2 separate regions of the Homo sapiens genome follow, and region 2 is linked to region 1. The links are contacts of gene promoters, found by promoter capture Hi-C in blood cells and fetal thymus (Javierre and others, 2016). All regions are on one chromosome and are shown on one strand. The core of a region is centred on a gene start or on the middle of the fragment in contact, and the rest is flanking DNA. Distances in the headings are between cores, read along the strand shown. Region 1 holds the start of TMEM14B (transmembrane protein 14B). Region 2 holds the start of SNRNP48 (small nuclear ribonucleoprotein U11/U12 subunit 48).

Region 1 (5,970 bases), core at 1,702-4,201:
GGACGTGGGGGTAAGTACATGAGAAGGACACAGGTGTATCTGGCTGAGGCCAAGGCAGGAAGAACCAGAGCCAGGGTACAGCCAGGGCAAACTGTACATGTGGCCTTTGTTCTCCTGTCTGCCGACCACCCCTCTCATTTCTCACTCCACATCTACTTGTCCATTCAACACATGTTTACTGAGTACTGGTTATGGGCCAGGCACTGTGCTAAATGCTGCATAAATATCATCACTCCCATGAAACAAACATGCAAAAAAGGGGGAGGTAGGCTCTACGATGATTAAGCCAGTTACAGAGCAGGTTAGCAGGGAATTGTCATGGAAGGAAAGATGCTGTCGGGGGAAATGCAGATGAGTTGAAGTTTTAAATCAGGTGATTAGGGAAGGTCTCTCTGAGAAGTGACATTTGCGTAAAGACAGAAAGGAGGAGAGGGCGTGAACCAGGAGATTGTCTGGGGAGGCGTTCCAGGCAGATGAAGCAGCTGAGGGCAAGAAGGAAACACAAGTGAGGGGGAAAGAGAAGATGCTGATGTCAGGGAGGAGGATGTGTGGGGCTTTGCAAAGCACTGCCTGAGAAAAGGGGTGCCACCAGAGGGTTTTGGGGAGAGAAATGGCACAGTCAGACTTCTAACCCAAGTGCTCTGGTCACTGTGTTGAGAACAGACTAAGAGACAGAAAAAAGACTCTTCACTGCAAGAAACAAATGCAGAGTTAGGACAGCTCTGCCATTTGCTGTGTGACCTTGTAGTCTGTGCCTCAATTTCTTCCATGTGTAAAGCAGGAGATAATCATAGTCGTCACTGCACAGAGTTGGTATGAAGTGTAAGTTAGTTAACATATGTAAAGCGCTTCCAACAGTGGCAGATAATAAGAACTGCATATGCTTCTGCTAATATTTTTATGGCTCCAATGAATATGATCCAGAAGTAGATGGCAGATAGGTTAGGTTAAGAAAATAGGCGGTTTTTTTTTTATGATTTCATTTATTTCTTGGGGAAAGAGTTATTGACCTTGCTCTTCAAACAAACCTATAAAATACTCCCAAAGATGTAGAAATTGGTATTGTAGACACTTGATAGACATGAATTACCTGGGCAGACTGCAACTTGGGATTTGTTTTTGACGTTTTTGTTCAGGGACTTCTTAATTTGTAAAGTCAACACATTCAGGCTCCAAAAATGCTAAACTAATGCTTACATTGAAGCTCAATTCCCTTTCTTCATGAGCTCTTGTGTTGTGGGAGATGATCTCTACTGCTCTTGCTGTGTGAGTACACACCTGTGTGTGTACCTGTGTTTGTCTACCAGACACAATTCTTACTCAAAGCCTCTTTGTGGGAAAAACAAAACAAAACACCCAAACCTACTGATAGGCCTCAGTGACCAAAGACTAGAAACTTAACATTCCCTGACATAATTTTGATTACACCCTTTTGACACATTTGTGTTCCAGGGTTCCGATAATTCAGTGGGCCCCCAGTGAAGAGCTAAGCTATCTCCTAACAACGTTAATGCCAACTAGAAATATTCCCAAACACAAATCATTGATTGTTTTACTCTGGTACTAATTGAAATAGAGCAGAAACCAATTTCTTTAATTTATTTTATGACATGTTTTGATGGACTTTACCTACACAGAAGAGCTATGTGTTCTGGTTGAGGAACGACACTGCAAGAAGCAGCATATGGTAGAATTAAGGACGCAGGCTTTGACATTAGACCTTACTTTAAATAATAGCTCTACCAGTGACCAGGACTGTAGGTAATTTAATTCTCTGAGGTTCAGCCTCTTCAAGTATAAGGTGGGGAAGGGCTCGAGGATCATGGTGGATGATCCTAATTAAGGTTTGAGGCTTGCACCTGCATAGGGAAGAATGAGTCCCTAAAGCCATTCCCTGCTGGTTAAGACAAGTCTCATTAATTGTTCAGGAAAGTCTTCAATTAAATTGAAGGTCTGGCATACTGCAATTCCTGCAAGTTCTTAGTTATTATCAGCTCTGGCTGGTTAGAAGCAGCTATGATAAACACGGGCTTCAATTTAGCTATCTGGAAGGTAGGTGCTGCTGCAAGTGGAAAGTTTGTCTTTAAGAATATGCGCTGCAATTTGCTTTATTCACTGATGATTATATTGATCGGAGTTGTCTATGTTGATACTTGTAGGGGATGAAGGAGAGGGAGAAGTCAACGATGACAGCAAATTTTAGTGTAGAGCAACTGAGCGAATGGTGGTGCAGGAAACACAGAAGAGGAGCGGCTCGGAAGTGGGAATGGAGATAACATCATACTGTGGACATTCGGAATCCACAGAGCTGCGTGGAAATCAGATTTAACTTGCTCTCTCTCCCCATTTAAGATGCTTCTCAAGTAGCCTCACTCCCTAAAACAAACGGATATTTGGCATTGCGCCACATTATTCTGCAGCTGCCATATTTTCTTGCAGGTGGAAGGCAGGCCCTTCCTGGTGTAAACAAACAAGATCGGGCCAGAGTGACAATCCTCCCTGATGGCCCGCACCTGGTTTATACCCTCTATTAATGGGGTCCTTCAAAATCATCAGATGCCCTCCTCCCGCAGCGGTGGCCTCCACCTCTGGCCTGGCCCAGCTTACGTGGTCCAGCTTGTGCAAGATCCAATTCCAACTCCGGGTTTCCGGCTTTTGGCCACTCAGGATTGGACCTGGGACTGGAGCTGGTCGGCCCTGCAGGTGCTGGGCCTGGGGACTGAGGAAGCACAGAGATTCCCCGCCCGGTTCCCCGCCAACGGCGCTAGCCGCGATGCCCCGCCTCACTCCCCGCCCCCGGGATGCAGGGCGCGTGCTGGTAATCCGCGGCTCAAGCCCCGCCCCCACTGTCCCCATTCTCCGCTCACCTCTCTCCAAGGACACTGCGCACGCGCCACGACGTCCCGCCTTTCTCCCCGCCCTGCCGCGGCCCCGGGGCGCAGCGCGCACGCAATCGCGTTTCCGGAGAGACCTGGCTGCTGTGTCCCGCGGCTTGCGCTCCGTAGTGGACTCCGCGGGCCTTCGGCAGGTCGGTGCAGGTCTTTGGAGAGTATTGTTTTTATTTTCTGCCACTTTTAACTTTTAGGGATTATTTAGGAGTTTCACGGCCGTCTGCTTTTCGTCCCCCCGATTCAGCGGGCCTTTATGCCGTGTGGTCGGTGCTTTTCTCCTTGGGTATTTTCTGCTTGTCTTAAAAGAGGCTGTGGATGCTCGGAGCACCTGAGCTCCTGAGGCAAAGGCTTACCCTTGTAGCATAGTGTTGCCTCGTTTCCTGGTGGTTTTGTTGCTCCAGCTCTTTAAAAGCCTCCCTTACTCAGTGCCGCCTCGAGTTAAGAACTGTGGGCAAGATCCCAAGCCCGCTGCCCTTCCCCGTTTTATGGGAAATTAATTCTTTCTTTTTTTGGGGGGTGGGGAGGGGTTCTCGCTGTGTCGCCCAGCCTGGAGTGCAGTAGCCTGAATATGTCTTATTGCAGCCTCTGCCTCCTGGGCTCAAGCCATCCTCCCACCTCAGCCTCCCAAGTAGCTGGGATTACAGGTGCATGCCATCATGCCCGATTTGTGTGTGTGTGTGTGTGTTTTAATAGAATATGGGTTTCACCATGTTGACCAAGCTGTTCTCGAACTCCTAACCTCAGGTAATCCGCCTGCCTGGGCCTCCCAAAGTACTGGGATTACAGGCGTGAGCCACTTTGCCTGGCCTAATTCTTTAAACAGAATAAACGGCGTATGCATTGCTTTCCATCTTGTTAGGTTCACTGCATACAGAATACTTTTCTGTAAGAAAATAGGAGCTGTTTTTCCAAGGGTGCAATGTCACATGTGATTCTGACTTGAGTTTCCGTGTATTTTACCCTCCCCTTCTGCCCTCCTAACGAGAACTGTGAGTTGGATGCAGAAGTTTCTAAAAAAAAAAATTGAGTATTGAAATTGGCTGTTGCATCAGTGAAGAAAAGCAACATCCCTACCACCCCTCAAAAGAGACATTAAAGTAGTTGGATTAAGGGCACGGGAGTATTTGCTTTCCGATTTAGTGATAATGTGAGTGCTTAATGAAATGACTAACACATTCCCTGATTATAGAGCTGGTCAGTGGATCTTGCTGAGTTTCCTGTGGACCTATGTGAAATGATCGGCATCTGTTCAGGGTTTACTAGGTGCTAAGCACCTTTACATGTGACATCCATTGAATGCTCACAACACCCCCAGGAAATTGGTACCAGTGTTATCCTCATGGTACAGTGAAGGATACTGAGACTTAGGTTGCATAGCCTGCAGGTTGGACACACTTCTTTCTGACTGCTGGGGAGCTGTGCTTTTAACCACTGCTGATCCGGCTTGTTTTCCCCAGATGCAGGCCTGGGGTAGTCTCCTTTCTGGACTGAGAAGAGAAGAATGGAGAAGCCCCTCTTCCCATTGTGAGTAGACAGTAAATGGTTAGAGAGTAGCCAGGAGCTTCTGGAAACCAGAGTTCCTTTCCTCAGCTGAAAAGAACCCTAAGAGTAGACTGCCTGGGATGGCGTGCGGGATGGGAGGATCACTGGACCTGTGGGCCAGAAACTTGGGTTTGAGTCCCAGCTCTAGCTTTGCTTAGTTGTGTGACTCTCAGAAAGTCATCCAACCTCTGTGGTGCTTATTTTCAGTGATAGTACCTGTGGGCACATAGGACCTGTGGGGAATGATTACCTTTTAGCCCCATCCTATGACAATATGGTTTGTTTTTAAATCCAGGTTAGCACTGACTTCTCACTGACTTCTCTTGTGTTTTCAGAGTGCCTTTGCATTGGTTTGGCTTTGGCTACACAGCACTGGTTGTTTCTGGTGGGATCGTTGGCTATGTAAAAACAGGTAGGGTTTTGTTGTTACTTAGCCTCTTAACATCTTCACGTTGTTCCAGTGAAATGTGAGTGCCTGTGTCCCTGAGAAGCAATCTCGTTTGACTCAGCTTTGCTGTAGGTCCCCAAGCTGGAGTGCAGGCTTCCTTGTCAGTCTTGCAGCTCCTGCCCTTGCCTTTTGCTTATCTGGTGAAGCTGAGCCAGGCCTCTTGTGGAATTACTTATTTTTGCCTCTTTATCTAAAGGTAGGCAGGGGTGGTTGTAGTTTGTTATTATCATTGACTGCCATTCATCAGCCATGACCCCCAAGTGCCATCTCTGGGCTTAAGTAGGAGTCAACCTCTGGCCTACACAGACTGGTATTTTGAAGTTTCCTCATTAGGCCAGGCAGGGGTGTGTCAGTGGCTGTGCTTGTTTTTGCCCCCTAGTCCTTGCCTGCATTCCCACCCCAATCCCTGCACCAGACTTCTTATTCTCCTGATCTTCTATTTTTTTTTTAACTGCCTGGCCCTATTTCCTTCTGCTTTTGTGATTTGCTGGAGGTCCTGCCTGTACACAATTCCAGCCCTTCATGGTTGATGAGGCCTGATTAGAAAGTGTTGTACTTGAGCGAGTTAGAGAAAACGCCACACTTTGAGACGAATTAAGAGTCTGTTTATTTAGCTGGGGCCTAAAAGACGGCTAACACTCAAAGTTCTCTCGGCCTTGAAGAAGGGGCTAGATTTTCTTTTATACTTTGGTTTAGAATGGGGTGGGGGGGGGGTCTAGTTAAAACAATTTTACTGAAGTAAAGTAGGCAAAAAAGTTAAAAGGATAAATGGTTACAGGAAAGTAAACAGTTCCAGGTGCAGGGGCTTTAAGACTATTACAAGGTGATGGACGCGGGGCTTTGGGCATTATCAATCGGACGAATTCCTGGGAACTGCGGATATAGCTCGCCACAGTATCTTATCAGTTAATTGCATTCTTGGATGTGCTGGGAGTCAGCTTGCACAAGTTAAGTCCTTGAGGACGGGGCTGCCAGTGAAAGAGCCAAGATGGAGTCTGTCTGGCTCTCTTAGCTAAGGAAGAGTCAATTCAGGTGGAAACAAGGCTAGGTGATTAAAGGAAAGGGAGAGTCTAAAAACAGGGTTAGTAA
Region 2 (5,970 bases), core at 1,458-3,957, 3.2 Mb before region 1:
TGCATTAAATACTGAGTTCGCGTGCCATGCATTGTGCCAGAAGCCATGGAGTCTGTGCTAGAAATACATGGTGAAAAAGAGCCCTCATAATCCAAAAGGAAGAAGAAAATGTGGTAAATGCTGTATTGGGAAAAATGAAGGAAATTCCTTATGCTAGAGCTGGGAGACTATATTAGTCACCTCACCCTGCCATAACAAGATGCCACAGACTGTGAGCGGCTTAAACGGAAGTGTATTTTCTCACAGTTCTGGAAGCTAAAAGTACAAGCTCAAGATGCAGGCAGGGCTGGTTTCTAGTGAAACCTGGCTCATGGGTGGCTATCAGTCTTATCTGATTAGAGTACCCACCCCTCCTTTATGACCTCATTTAACTTTAATTACCTCTTAGGGCTCTATCTCCTTATACAGTCACATTGTGGGTTGGTACTTCAACATAGGCATTTTTGAGGGACTCAATCCAATCCATAACAGAGGCCTAGCCTAGAACAGGAGTCTGGAGACCACTCCAGGAAAGTGATATCAAAACAGATCAGCAGCATCAGTGTAGAGCAGTTCCTCGGGCTGAAACAGTAACTAGAGAGTACAGTCAATTGACAAATCTTTCCTACTCCCTCCAGGCTTGTGCCAATGTTGTCATGAAGCTCTGAGATGACATGGGGCTGTATCCTGAAGAGAGGATATGTTTGACGTGGGCTAAGTTTTAATTTGGTTCACATATACAAACAGGGAAATATACACTAGAACTTTTTATCAGGAGTCATGTCACATCAGAAATAGTCTCACATTTTTCCAGACCAACCAGCTAACTATGGAAATGCAAATAAAAAGTAAGGATACCGGGCTGGGCGCGGTGGCTCACGTCTGTAATCCCAGCACTTTGGGAGGCTGAGGCGAGCAGATCACAAGGTCAGGAGTTCGAGACCAGCCTGGCCAATATGGTGAAACCCCATCTCTATTAAAAATAGAAAAATTAGCAGGGTGTGGTGGCATGTGCCTGTAGTCCCAGCTACTCGGGAGGCTGTGGCAGAAGAATTGCTTGAACCCGGGAGATGGAGGTTGCAGTGAGCTGAGATTGCGCCACTGCACTCCAGCCTGGGTGGCAGAGCCAGACTCCGTCTCAAAAAAAAAAAAAAAAAGATACTGTAGGCAGAGTATGAATACATTAACTTCATACTCCTCTCTTACCAGCTTCTAGCCACTTCTGTATTTTATGGTGCTGCCTATTTATAGTCTTATGACTATTTTTTTAAGTGAGAACCGTGCTATTTGCCTTTAGAAATAATTGTTCACCAAAAAATTCCCCCACAGTTCCTTCACATGGGTAAACAAAGTGCAAAAGGAAACCAAGGTTTGACACTTGGGCTTGAAAAAATTTTAAAAAGTAATATAAAATGGGTTAGATTCTAGGAGTTGAAACCATTTGGGGAAACTACAAGGGCTAATTCCAGGTGTTGGGTAGGAAATGTACAAAGTTAAGCTTGTGTTATCAAAGCAAGAAAGCATTCAAGGACTAATAGGGATACATGAAAGACACAGATGGCTTAATGTGGCTTCCACTGGCCACATTTGGGACAATTTGAGCATCAACAAGAATTATGATGTTAAAGGAGTATATTATATTGAATTAAAAAAAAACCTTAAATCAATAACTTTAAAAACACCTTGATTCCCATAGTGAAGCAAACACTAAAATGGAGGTGTGGAAAGAATGCCAGTTAATAAACATAAAAGGCATGATACTATTGCGGAATCACTTATAACTCCTAATGTAACAACAGATTCAGTGAAGGACTGTATCAAGGAGTTGGGGAACAGGTTATTCTTATGGACTCAAGGTATAATCCACAGATTGCTTACCAATTCCTAAGAGGAAAATGTACTATTAGAATGAAGAGATGTAGCCACCACCTTTACCAAGTGATCAAATTTAGCATTACTAATATAACTGAGTTATGCGTCCCCGTGAGTTGGCAACATCTCTTAGGTAGTATTGCAAAAGTGCTCAAACTGAATCTAATCATGAGGGAAACAAAATCTGACAAATCCAGAATGAGAGAGATTCTACAAGACAACTGGCCTAGGCTCATCACAACATGTAATGATTTAATAATTTAAAAAGGAGGGTGAAGGAGGCTGATCTGGATTAAAAGAGACAATAACTAATTATAGCTTATGAGTTGAAAAAATAAAACTGCTATAGAAATAATTTTGGGGACAATGGGGAAATTTGAATATGAACTGTATAATAAATGATTTTATGGACTTACTAATTTTCTTAGGTTTGATCATGTATTGCGGTTACACAGGAAAATGTTCTTATTCTTAGAACATGCATGCTAACATATTTGGGGGTGAAAAATCTGCAACTTACTTTCAAAGAATTCAGCAAAAATCATTGGGTGGGGCTGTGAATGTGGAGAGAAGAGACGGAGAGAAATCAAACCTGGCAAAATGTTAACAATGAGCTGAAGGACGGCTAAACGAAAGCTCATTGTACTATTTTTAAAACTTTTCTGTAGCTATAAGCCGTTTTTTCTGAGGAAGTCGAGGAGGGCGAATATCTTTCTGGAAAGGCCAGAGCAAATGCACGCAAGAGCTGAGAAAAGATTGGAAAACGCCTCTCAAAATAACAGTCCCGCCCTTCCCGGGACTCTTCCCTATAGGCTGTTCAAGTCACGTGGCGACTGTGGCCCCGCCCACAGCTCCCAGAGGCCTGCGCGTGCGGTCTGCAGTTCGGCCGCTTCCTCTTGGCGGGTGGGCTGCAGCTATGGAGGGCGAGCCTCCACCTGTGGAGGAGCGGCGGCGGCTGCAGGAGGAGCTGAACGAGTTCGTGGAGAGCGGCTGCCGGACGTTGGAGGAGGTGACCGCGTCCCTGGGCTGGGACCTAGATAGTCTGGATCCCGGGGAAGAGGAGGCGGCGGAGGTGAGGAGCGCGGCCGCGGGGCCCTTTCGGGGACTATCGGCCCGGGGTCTTCTCTGGAAGAAGGGAGATCCGCACTGGCAGCCGCGGAGGGAAGGGCGAGGAGTCCTCGTCCGTGTGCAGAGCCGCGATGGGCGCCTGGGACCCGAGGGGCGCCGGGGGCCCTGGAGCAACCCTGACGTCCCTGGGTTCCGGGCTGGGGCGCGCGAGGAACTCCCGAAGGCTCCACATCGACCTCCAGTGCGGCGCTCCTCCCGCGCAACTTCGAGTTTAAAGAAAACCGGGGGCCGGGCGCGGTGGCGCACGCCTGTAATCCTAGCACTTTGAGAGGCCAAGGCGGGAGGATCCCTTGAGCCCAGGAGTTCCAGACTAGCCTGGGCAACATGGTGAAACCTCTTCTCTACCAAAAGTACAAAAATTAGCCGGGTGTGGTGGTGTGAGCCTGTGGCCCCAGCTATTTGGGAGGCTGGGGTGGAAGGATAGCTTGAGCCCAGGAGGTCGAGGCTGCAGTGAGCCGAGATCGCTCCACTGCATTCCAGCCTGGGCGACAGAGCAAGACCCTGTCTCAAAAAACAAACAAACAAAATCCAGGAAGGTGTGTTGAGTGAGGAGGGAATGGCAGATTTGGTATTTATTTAGAAAATAAGTGAACGTGTCTCAGAGCGCTGCAGAGGGATTGGCGGTTTGCATTGTCATCTGTCATACGGATTCCGCAGTTGCACCAGATTCGGTGTCAGGAGAGCTGGGAGTTTGCCAGTTCGCCTTTCTGTGCCTTAAAATTGGACACTTCTGACTGGGACAGCACCAATTCTAGGATTATTAAAGGTTGTCACCAAGAGGTGGTAACTGGCAACTCCTGTGGACATTAGAATTGCTTTTTTAAAAATGTAGGCAAGTGTATTTAGAGTGAACATTCGTGATTTTTGTTTTTTTGTGGGGTATTTTCGGTGGAATGAGAGGAAGGGAAGTGCTCCAATGTGGGGTAATTCATTATCTTTACTATTACTTCTGGGTTTACCATGCTGTGATAATTTCTCCTGGGTTTAAGTTACATGACTGATTCCTCAGAGGCATTTAAAATATATTTGATTTCTGTATATACCATTCATTGTTTATTGTATTAAAAGCACAGAGGAAATTAAAAAATCTTTAATATTCATTTAGAGGGGTATTTGAAGCTGGGAATTCCACTGAGTGGGGCTTACCAGACCCTTCCATACATTGTTTACTCAGCATTGCGGTAACATTGGATTCCTTGTATTAACGTTTAAATAGCACTTTGTTTGCCACTTACATTACTTCATTTAATACTCAAAATAACCCTATGAGGTAGGTATCTTTGGCCACATTTTATAGACGAGGAAAGGAACACAGAAGTGATAATTTGTCGAAGGATACACTGCTAGTAAATGGCAGTTAGGATTTCCGCCGGTGTTTTAGTACTGAAATTTAGTGAACAACAGTCCTAGTTGTCATCTGTTCCTAGTTGTCACCTAGTTCCTAGTCCTCACAGAGCTAGTCCTAGTTGTCACCTAGTTCCTAGTCCTAGTTGTCACCTAGTTCCTAGTCCTCACAGAGCTTATTGTCTGGTGGTGATGAGGGGTAATACGGATAACTGAACCATTATATTATCATGGGTCTGTGATGGGTGGGGTTGGAATTGCTATAGTACAGTTTATTGTAGGCGGTGGTGGACAAAGTGGTGGTCAGCAAAGGCTTCCTGGACAAAGTGAATTCTAAGCTGATAAATAAAAGTGAGTTGAATTGGCTAGGGGGTTGGCGGGTGCGGGGAAGAAGCATCAACAGCATGTGTAGAAGTTCAGAGACAGGGAGTGACCAGATCGGGAAGCCTCAAGTAGTTAAGGATAGCTAGAGCATAGAGTGTAGAGTTAGAGTAGAATGGTGATGGTGGGTAGAGGTCAGATCTTAAAGGTCCTTGTCAGCCATATTAGAAAGTCTAGATTTTTTTTTTTTTTTTTAATGAAGGCAGTGGGGAGGTATGGAATTATTTTAAGCCAGGGCATATTATAATCACATTTACCTTTTAATAAAATAATAGCATACATTTATTGAATGCTTGCTATGTACCAGGCCCTATTTGAATTCCTTTATGTGTATAAACTTTGGTATACTTTTTTAAATCTTCACAATCACTTTGTGAGAGAGGTCCTGCTATTATTTTTATTTTATATAATAGAAAATGAGGCAAAGAGAGATTAAGTACCTCACCCAGTTTCATGCAGCCAGTAAGTGGCAGAGATGGAATTCAAACCAGCTACAGGATGGAAACTGAAGGGGAGGGCAGCAAGACTGGAAGCAGAGAGAGAGAGCAAGAGTGAGAGAGAGCGAGCGAGCGTAGTCAGGAGATGGTGTTGTATTCCAGGAGAGAGTTGATGATACCCTGAGTTGGGGAAGTGGCAGTGGGGATGGAGGATGTTGAGGGATTTTCAGAAATATTTAGGAGTTAAATTGGCAGGACTAGGTGATTGATTGGACGTGGGTGATGAGGGAGAAGTAGTTTCTTGCTTGAGCAAGGGGGACCTTTCACTGAAATAGAAAAGTACAAAAGGAATAGATTTGAGGGTTGGGAGATGATGAATATAATTAATTTATTTTTGTTTGTGTTGAACTTTTAGTGTCTTTAATATACGGTACTGGAGAGAAACAAGGTTTAAAGATCTAAATTTTGGGAGTCCTCACTGTATAGTGAGAGTTGTAGCTTTGAGATCTTTCAGTAAGCATATATTAAACAGCAAAAGGTCAGTGGTTATATTAATACTTACATGAAAACCAACATCTAAAGGGGGACAAATAGAGCAAGGAAGACAGATATTTAGGATATTTAGAGGAGACCAAGTAGAAGAAGCCAGAGAGGTAGAAAGAACATGAGGGGTGTGTCAGAATCACAGATGGACAATTGGAGTGTGACCTTCCAAGAGTTCAGATAAAACAAGACAGTGACATGTTTTTGGCTTTAGTAACAAGGTTATTAGTGACCTATTGACTGGTTTCAGTGGGGTGATGGTGGCAATGAGTGAGGAATCGTTATA

Evidence for each region. The method cuts DNA at HindIII sites, captures the fragments that hold promoters and counts their contacts. A CHiCAGO score of 5 or more calls a contact.
Region 2: a contact is called between the fragment with the promoter of SNRNP48 here and the fragment with the promoter of TMEM14B in region 1, in 1 of 17 cell types (fetal thymus). The highest score is 5.1, in fetal thymus.

Annotation. Positions count from the first base shown.
Region 1 is chr6:10,744,854-10,750,823 of GRCh38, forward strand. TMEM14B (transmembrane protein 14B) reads left to right here and starts at 2,952. Exons shown (of 6, transcript NM_030969.5): 1 at 2,952-3,028; 2 at 4,349-4,415; 3 at 4,769-4,845. The coding sequence starts at 4,393. TMEM14B-DT (TMEM14B divergent transcript) reads right to left here and starts at 2,731. Exons shown (of 2, transcript NR_187231.1): 1 at 2,608-2,731. RefSeq lists an enhancer at 2,512-2,561 and silencers at 2,682-2,911, 2,746-2,966, 2,922-2,981. The HindIII fragment of the contact is 12,296 bases long and covers 1-5,970 here.
Region 2 is chr6:7,587,491-7,593,460 of GRCh38, forward strand. It overlaps SNRNP48 (small nuclear ribonucleoprotein U11/U12 subunit 48), which reads left to right and starts at 2,708. Exons shown (of 9, transcript NM_152551.4): 1 at 2,708-2,923. The coding sequence starts at 2,768. RefSeq lists enhancers at 2,465-3,204, 2,783-2,932. The HindIII fragment of the contact is 5,411 bases long and covers 1,476-5,970 here.